Regions from separate parts of the Homo sapiens genome. Here region 2 is linked to region 1. The links are contacts of gene promoters, found by promoter capture Hi-C in human tissues and cell types (Jung and others, 2019). All regions are on one chromosome and are shown on one strand. Each heading gives the region's core, a stretch centred on a gene start or on the middle of the fragment in contact. The rest is flanking DNA. Distances are from core to core; before and after follow the strand shown. Region 1 overlaps RBM23 (RNA binding motif protein 23). Region 2 holds the start of RAB2B (RAB2B, member RAS oncogene family).

Region 1 (4,374 bases), core at 964-3,463:
TAACCTTTTATTCATACCTCACAATCCCTAAAACAGTGTTCATTATCAACCCACCTGACTGGGCTCTTCTCTCTGAAATGAGGACTCTTACTGTGTCCATACCTATAACTAAAGAATAGAGAAAAACAAAAGGTGAAACCTTATTCTCATTGGTCCAATGCTGGGTCTTCCATGGTGAGAAAACCAGATTCCAGTACTTCATCTCATTGTTTTTTTAAGACAGGGTTTCCGCTGTCACCCAGGCTGGAGTGCAGTGGCGCCATCTCGGGTCACTGCAACCTTTGCCTCCCAGGCTCAAGCAATCCTCCCACCTCAGCCTCCTTGTGTGGCTAGGATTACAGACACACATGACCATATCTAGCTCATTTTTGCATTTTTTGTAGAACCAGGGTTTCGCCATGTTGTCCTGGCTGGTCTTGAATTCCTGAGCCCAAGTGATCTTCTGGCCTCAGTCTCCCAAAGTGCTGGGATTACAGGCATGAGCCACCACACCAGTAAATTTTGAATACCAACCCTTTCTGTGCCTGAGTATCCTGCCAATCACAATGTGTTATAATAAGCACCCTCAAGCAGGGTTCATAGTGCATTTGTTGTTTTATCCAGATTATTATACAAAAGTGAATCTATTAGCAAAAAGTGATACCCAGTGGCAAGTGGAGGACTCCTGTAATGCACACGATCCTCACGACGATGGTCCCGACTTCGCGACTCACTACCATGTCGACGATCCCAGCTACGGCTACGGTGACGACACTGCCGACCTGGACTTCGGCTCCGACTATTTCTCCGTCTATACCGATCCCGATCTCGACTACGACTACAGAGGGAAACAACTACAGTCATGCCCACATCATGTTTAGGCCAACAACCAAGTGCATATACAACAGTGGTCCCATAAGATTATAACGGTGCTGAGAAGTTCGTATAACCTAGTGATGTTACAGCCACTGTAATGTCGTAATGTATTACTTATGTGTTTGTGGTGATACTGGTGTAAACCAAACTATTACCTACTGCACTCCCAGTTGTATAAAAATACAGCACATCCAATTATGTACAAAGTGAATCTCATGAAGATAGAAAGACTAGTGTTTACTAGAGGCTGGGAAGGATGGAAGGATGGAAGGATGGCGGCTGTGGGTGGAATGAACAGAAGTAGATGAATGGATACAAATATGTCATTTAATAGAAAAAATAAGACCCAGGGCTGGGCGCGGTGGCTCACGCCTGTAATCCCAGCACTTTGGGAGGCCAAGGCGGGCAGATCACCTGAGGTCGAGAGTTCGAGACCAGCCTGACCAACATGGAGAAACTCCGTCTCTACTAAAAACACAAAATTAGACCAGGCACGGTGGCTCACGCCTGTAATCCCAGCACTTTGGGAGACCAAAATGGGTGGATCACTTGAGATCAGGAATTCCAGACCAGTCTGGCCAACATGGTGAAACCCCATCTCTACCAGAAATACAAAAATTAGCCAGGTGTGGTGGTGCGCAACTGTAATCCCAGCTACTCAGGAGGCTGAGGCAGGAGAACTTCTTAAACCTGGGAGGCGGAGGTTGCAGTGAGCCGACGTCGCGCCACTGCACTCCATCCTGGGCAACAGAGTGAGACTCTGTCTCAAAAAACAAACCAAAAAAATTAGCCAGGCATGGTGGCACACGCCTGTAATCCCAGCTATTCAGGAGGCTGAGGCAGGAGAATCACTTGAACCTGGGAGGCAGAGGTTGCGGTGAGCCAAGATCACGCCATTGCATTCCAGCCTGGGCAACAAAAGCGAAACTCGGTCTCAAAAAAAAAAGAAAAAATAAGACCCAGTGTTCAACAAATCAGTAGGGTTATTACTACAGTGTACAATAATCTATTATACATTTCAAAATAGCTAGTAGAGAATAATTTGAATGTTTCCTAGCATCATGAAAAGATAAACATTTAGGTCAAGGATAACTCAAGTACACTGATTTGATCTTTACAAATTATATGTATTAAATTTCACACATACCAGAAACTACATACAATATGTATCAATTAAAAATTGTTTAAAAATAAAACAATTACGTACAGTATATACTTCACGATAAAAAGTAATGATGTCACTGATTCATGTATTTACTATATTTATCATTCTAGAATATATTACTTCTACTTCGGTTAACTATAAAACAGCCTTAGGCTGGTCCTTCAGAAGGTGCTCCTAAAGAAAGCACTGTTACAGCAGAGTACAACTCTATGTGTATTAATGCCCTTGAAGACCTTCCAGTGGGACAAGATGTGGAGGTGAAAGACCCTCTGCAGGCCTAGGCTCATGTGTCTTTGTGTCGTAGTTTTCAACAATAACAATAATGTTTAAAAAGTAAAAGACAAAAAAATTTAAAAATAGAAAAAAGCTTATAGAATAAGGACATAAAGAAAACTTGTAGAGTTGTACAATGTGTTTGTGTTTTAAGCTAAATGTTTCAATTTTTTATTTTTATTTTTATTTTTTTTGAGACAGGTTCTCCATCTGTTGCCCAGGCAGGAGTTTAGTGCTGCAATCTCGGCTCACTGCAACCTCGAACTCCTGGGCCCAAGCAATCCTCCAGCCTTAGCCTCCCAAGTAGCTGGGAGTACAAACATGTACTACTACACCTGGGTAATTTTTAAATTTTTTGTAGAGACAGGATTTTGCTATGTTGCCCAGGCTGGTTTTGAACTCCTGGCCTGAAGTGATCCTCCCGCCTTGGCTTCCAAAGTGCTAGGATTAAAGATACGAGCCACTGTGCCTGGCCCAGAATTACTGACCTGCGCTTTCTATCCCTGCTTTTATTATGGCTCCGACTCCTCTTCTTCCTGTGAAAGAGAGTACATTCTTCTTTTTTTTTTTTTAATTTTGAGAAAGAATCTCGCTCTGTCGTGCAGTGGTGCAATCTTGGCTCACTGCAACCTCCGCCTTCCAGGTTCAAGCGATCCTCATGCCTTAGCCTCCTGAGTAGCTGGGATTACAGGCATGTACCATCATGCCCAGCTAATTTTTTATATTTTTAGTAGAGACAAGGTTTCGCTATGTTGGCCAGGTTCATCTTGAACCCCTGGCCTCAAGTGATCCACCTGCCTCAGCCTCCCAAAGTGCTGGGATTACATGCATGAGCCCCGCGTGAGCACCGCGCCAGGTCAGGAGTGTAAATTCTTAAAGAGAAGGTTTCGTTATTGCTGCCAAAGAAAAGGAATTACAGTAAGGCCAGAATGAAACAGAAAGCATGAAAAAACCAAAGACCCGAAGATGATCCAGCAGTGGTTCACAGCAATTGCACAATACCAACTTACAGCCCTGAAAGCTGTCAGGCATCTGAAGAGGCCATTTTTCCCCCTAATGCGAAGCAAAACCTGGTGTTTCCAAATCAGGGGTCCTCTTGCTATTTTTTTTTTTTTTGAGACAGAGTCTCACTCTGTTTCCCAGGCTGGAGTGCGATGGTGCGACCTCGGCTCACTACAACCTCTGCCTCCCATGTTCAAGCAATTCTCCTGCCTCAGCCTCCTGAGTAGCTGGGATTACAGGAGCCTGCCACCGCGCCCAGCTAATTTTTGTATTTTTAGTAGAGACGGGGTTTCACCATGTTGGTCAATCTGGTCTCGAACTCCTGACCTCAGGTGATCCACCCACCTCGGCCTCCCAAAGTGCTGGGATTACAGGTGTGAGCCACCACGCCCAGCCCCTCTTGGTATTTTATTCAAATGAAGTATATTGATGCTAGGACTAATCCACAAATCTACACTGGAAAATGAAGACTAGATAATTAAATCAAGTCACCATTATTCTCATGACCTAGGTGGAGCCATTACTAACAGTCAGCAGTCTTAACAGAAACAATCTCCCTATTCTGGTTATTTTTCCAATGGACAAAACTGTTTCCCTTCCCCAAGTTGCCAACCCATTTCTTCCTCCCACACTCACTTGCTTGTCTCCCCGATGGTGCTGCTTCCACTGGTCTCATTGCCACTGTTGCTGGTGCTGCTGGTGGTATTGCTAGGATAATCCTTTTTAACTTCTTTCCTTTGTTGCTCATCCTGAGGCATTCACCAGGAAAATGTCACAAGGTATAAGGTGGCAGACACACAGATTCCAATGGGCAAAGGGAACAAAGGTGGACAAGGAATAAATCAAACCACTTGATTATCTAGCCAGATTTTCAGCACCCTTATTTCCTAACAAAGGGAGTAAGAAAGGAATCAAGGAAACTACCTAAAAGGAAGAGATCAGCATGACAGATTTTGATGTCAAACTTCAGTTACCCAACATCTGCTCCACTAACATTTCCCAGGAGAGTTACAAATTGGTGCTAGGCTGGGGGCAGTGGCTCACGCCTGTAATCCCAGCACTTTTAAAGGCTGAGGCAG
Region 2 (4,374 bases), core at 518-3,017, 1.4 Mb before region 1:
TTAAGAAGTCAAATTTAAAAAGGTGAATACTTTTTTAGCAATGTTAGGTTAATGCTTAAATTTGGTTAGGTAACATTTAGTTTTGTAACTTTTCCAAAAAACTAAAAATTTTGGAAATATTTCCTGACACTTTCTCAGTCACTCTTTAGTCTCTACTTAAAACAATATTTATTTTTTTGCAATTCCAGATGTTTTTCTTTAAGAAAAGAGCCTAAGAAATAGGTTCTCAGAAACAATACTTTTTTTTTTTTTTTTTTGAGATGGAGTCTCGCTCCGTCACCCAGGCTGGAGTGCAGTGGTGCGATCTCAGCTCACTGCAGCCTCCACCTCCTGAGTTCAAGTGATTCTCCTGCCTCAGCCTCCCAAGTAAGTACCTTACAGGCACACGCCACAACGCCCACCTAATTTTTTTAACAATACATTTTACATTTCCAATAATTGCCAGAGGCACAATTAAGCATTGTTGCCTTGTTAAGCATTGTATCATTAGCCCCTATCGCAAAGTGAGAATTCGCTCAATATTCCCTTTAAAATACCTTTTAGTTGATACTGCCAAATCCTTTTCTAACCCCATCAATTATTTGACTCTAAATAAATCCGTTAGGAACAGTGGTAGCTTCAGGTTTCCATACAGGTGGGACTTGGAAGTAGCAATATGGTAAGAATGGGGATGTAGGGGTTTATTTAGAAACTGCATTTGCATGGCAAGAAAGCTAGTTTCATATATGTTGTTTATTTGGACTGGGGTTACGGAGATAACGAAGAGGGGGTAGTTAAAAGCCTCTTCAGGCCATGCCTTATCACAAACGTGTGGGAAAGGTTAATATTTTCCAGGATCGCCAGTGCGTTTGAGGAACTGTTAACACACTCTTTCATTTAAAAGGAAAGTTTTTAGTTTTATTTGCCTATTAATTCTAAGGCAGGGATGACTCCTCAATTTGCTTCTTCACCAATATAAAAAATGTCCATGTATTGGTGTTTACTTTTTAAAAGTAAGGCTGGTATTAATTTACCTCAAAGCACAGATGAGTTCATAAATAAGCAGTTATGCTTTCGTGGGATTTTCCATAAACATACAAATTGTATTTGAAAAAAAATTATATGACGAGTCTATACCTCACACTCTAAAAAGTTACCTTTCAATTATATACTCTCCCTTACACTACTCCCCACATATCAACGTTTCATTGGTCACTTCATTAACATAAGTTTGGACTAGTTTAAAGTAGTGAGGGGTAACTTTTTACTTCGAACACTGAAGGCTGCTAACTTTCCACTTTAGCAATTTAGCTAGTCAGGTTTTATCATCTGTTCTGGAACAAGTAGATGCACTTACCTATTGTGAGGTCGTGGACAGGCTGGAACCGCTTATCTGTAAACTGCAGGAGGAGACATGACTTCCCCACACCTGAAAGAGAAAGCACACTCCCGGAATCACGCAGCCCTGGAACACCTTCCAGAGTATGGACTTCCCGGACCAGAGAAGGGGGGCTCCCGAGCCCCGCCCCCGGCCGCCCCGAACCGCCCCGCCCGTCTCGAATCGCCCAGCCCACAAAGTGAGCCCCGCCCCCGCCACCCAATTTGGGAGCTTCGAATGCCCGCCCGAGCCTTGAAGGCGAACCACCTGAGGGTTACCTGTGTCTCCGATGATGATATACTTGAAGAGATAAGCATAAGTCATGGTGTCGCGTCCTCTGGGTTCCGGGTCCGCCCGACTTCTATAGCCACTTACCTCCGACCTCTCTAGCCACTCAATCTACCGATCTTCTTCTTCTCCCCCTTCCCCCCGCTCCCCCGCCCCTCCGGCTCCTCTAGCCCAGATCACGTCTCTATTGCACTCCCCGGAATCATCCTTAGGTCGGGAGTACCCTACGCCACCTCCAGGGACGCTTCTAGCACTTCTACATGCCCTTATCCCTCCAAACTCCAGGGGGCGATAGCCCAGCGCCTGACTCTCTGCAGCCCCACGGCGCTCCTTCCAATCAGCAGAGAGAACACACGTCCTTGCGGAAGTGACGGCAGTTCCGAGTCCAGTGGGGGCGGTGGGAGCGATGAGGGTCTGAGACGGTGGGAGCGGTTGTGTGAAGATGGAGGTAGGAACCTGATAGCTAAGAAGGCTGGCGAGAGAACGCGGCCGACCGGGTTGAAGCAGGGACGGGAAGCCGGGCGGAGAGGCGACTGACGGGAGAGGAGAGAGAGCGGGGTTTGGGGAGTGTTGTCAGAATGTCAGGGTCAAAAGCCATCGCTCCAAGCTGACTCCCTGCTCCCCCTAACTTATCCCCGCGACTTTCTTTTGGTTTCCAGTTTCCCGGAGGAAATGACAATTACCTGACGATCACAGGGCCTTCGCACCCCTTCCTGTCAGGGGCCGAGGTGAGCCAGAGCTGCCGACGCCGCGGGGGTAGGGCCTGAGGCAGCGGTGGGGTAGGGTAGTGGGGAGGAGAGCACGGACTCCGGGGACGGGGGCTGGGAACCAAGGGCCGCAATTGGTGTTTAGAGAAAAGTGGCGGTTGCTTCTAGAGCCTGTGGGGACTATCTGGGGAAGTCTTGGGAAGTTGCTGTCATCAGAAAGCAAGGTATTGGAAAGAGATAACCTGTTTAAAGAGAAAAGGGATTCTGGATTAGAAGACAGAGTGGAATTGTCTCCTTTCTCTGGGGAGAAATAGCTACAGTAATCTTAGGGGATCGCAGTGGAAAGAAAATGTTTCAGCAGCTGAAGAAATTGGGGTTGAGGGGAGGAGCTTATTGGTTTTCTTTTGTTTTGAGACAGAGTCTCGCTTTATCGCCCAGGTTGAAGTGCAGTGGTGCGATCTCGGCTCACTGCAACCTCTGTCTCCTGGGTTCAAGCGATTCTCCTGCCTCAGCCTCCCGAGTAGCTGGGATTACAGGCGTGCGCCACCACGCTCGGCTAATTTTTGTATATTTAGTAGAGATGGCAGTTTCACCATATTGGCCAGGCTGGTTTCGAACTCCTGACCTCAGGTGATCCACCCACCTCGGCCTCCCGGAGTGCTGGGATTACAGGCCTGAGCCATTGCGCCCGGCCTAAATTTCCTACTTTGATAAAAAATTTGTGGTTACCTTTACCTACATGGTGTCAGCTTGTTTTGCTAATGTCAGGAGGAAAGGAAATAGCTGCTAGAGAATATAAAAGAGTTGAGTAGGACATGTGTTTCAATTTGCCAGTGACTCAGACGTTGGGCACATTACTTCATCTTTGTATGTCACAGTTTCCCCAGCTGTCAAACAGCTGTAATTATAGTTTCTTATGCTGTTTTAAAGTAGAAGTAAAGGTTATGATGAAACCCTGAAGTGTTCGTTAAAAAAGTTTGGTTGAAATATTGTCATAATATAGATATGTATCACTTGTTTGGGAGAGGCAAAAGAGAATGGTGGAACAGACAAAAATTTCTGTCTTTGAGAAACTGAAGTCTTGAACCATCTGCCATTTTTTGAGGACTTTTATATTTATTTTCAAAAGTGGTGTGGACCATTTGCATCAGTTTTTTTTACCAAGAATTGTCAGTGGCTGTTGCATGGGCTTATCCTATAATCCTAACGTTTTCATGGATGAAAATGGGGTTGACAAGGGCCAGTTGCTAGTTTAACTTTTTTTTTCTTTCTTTTTTTTTTTGAGACAGTCTCCCTGTAGCCCAGGCTGGAGTGCAGTAGCACGATCTTGGCTCACTGCAGCCTCCACCTCCTGGGCTCAAGTGATTCTCCTGCCTCAACCTCCCAAGTAGCTGGGAATACAGGTGTGCGCCACCACACCCAGCTAATTTTTTTTTTTTTTTTGAATTTTTGTAGAGACGGGGTTTCACCCTGTTACCCAGGCTCTTTAACTCCTGGCCTCAAGTGATCTGCCCGCCTCAGCCTCCTAAAGTGCTAGGATTACAGGCATGAGCCAATGTGCCCAGTGCCAGTTTAACTTTTTTGTTGCTTTTATTTATTATTCTCATAAGCAGGATAAGTGTGAATCTAGTATGCAGCAAACTTTGAAATGATATAAAACCTAAATCTGGGCCCAGCACAGTAGCTCGTGCCAGTAATCCCAACTGTTTGGGAGGCTGAGGCAGGAGAATTGCATGAGCCCAAGAGTTCTAGACCAGCTTGGGCAACGTGATCAAACTCTGTCTCTATAAAAGATAATAATAATTAATTTTAAAAAAACAGGTGAGGCGGGGTGCGGTGGCTCATGCCTGTAATCCCAGCACTTTGGGAGGCCAAGGAGGGCGGATCACGAGGTCAGGAGTTCGAGACCAGCCTGACCAACATGTGAAACCCCATCTCTACTAAAAATACAAAAATTAGCCGGGTGTGGTGGTGCGCGCCTGTAATCCCAGATACTCAGGAGGCTGAGGCAGGAGAATCGCT

What was found. Contacts are between HindIII fragments. The study calls those that stand out against the background at their distance.
Region 2: a contact is called between the fragment with the promoter of RAB2B here and a fragment that was not itself captured in region 1, in 1 of the 25 tissues and cell types used here (heart left ventricle).

Annotation. Positions count from the first base shown.
Region 1 is chr14:22,905,552-22,909,925 of GRCh38, forward strand. It overlaps RBM23 (RNA binding motif protein 23), which reads right to left. Exons shown (of 14, transcript NM_001077351.2): 3 at 3,932-4,044; 4 at 2,782-2,829; 5 at 644-817; 6 at 55-108. Among named protein-coding and RNA genes, the nearest start is that of RBM23, 11 kb to the right of the region's middle. The HindIII fragment of the contact is 8,113 bases long and covers 1-4,374 here.
Region 2 is chr14:21,475,192-21,479,565 of GRCh38, forward strand. RAB2B (RAB2B, member RAS oncogene family) reads right to left here and starts at 1,768. Exons shown (of 8, transcript NM_032846.4): 1 at 1,636-1,768; 2 at 1,337-1,408. The coding sequence starts at 1,681. It overlaps TOX4 (TOX high mobility group box family member 4), which reads left to right and starts at 2,004. Exons shown (of 9, transcript NM_014828.4): 1 at 2,004-2,093; 2 at 2,305-2,373. The coding sequence starts at 2,088. RefSeq lists enhancers at 1,185-1,304, 1,885-1,954. The HindIII fragment of the contact is 11,571 bases long and covers 1-4,374 here.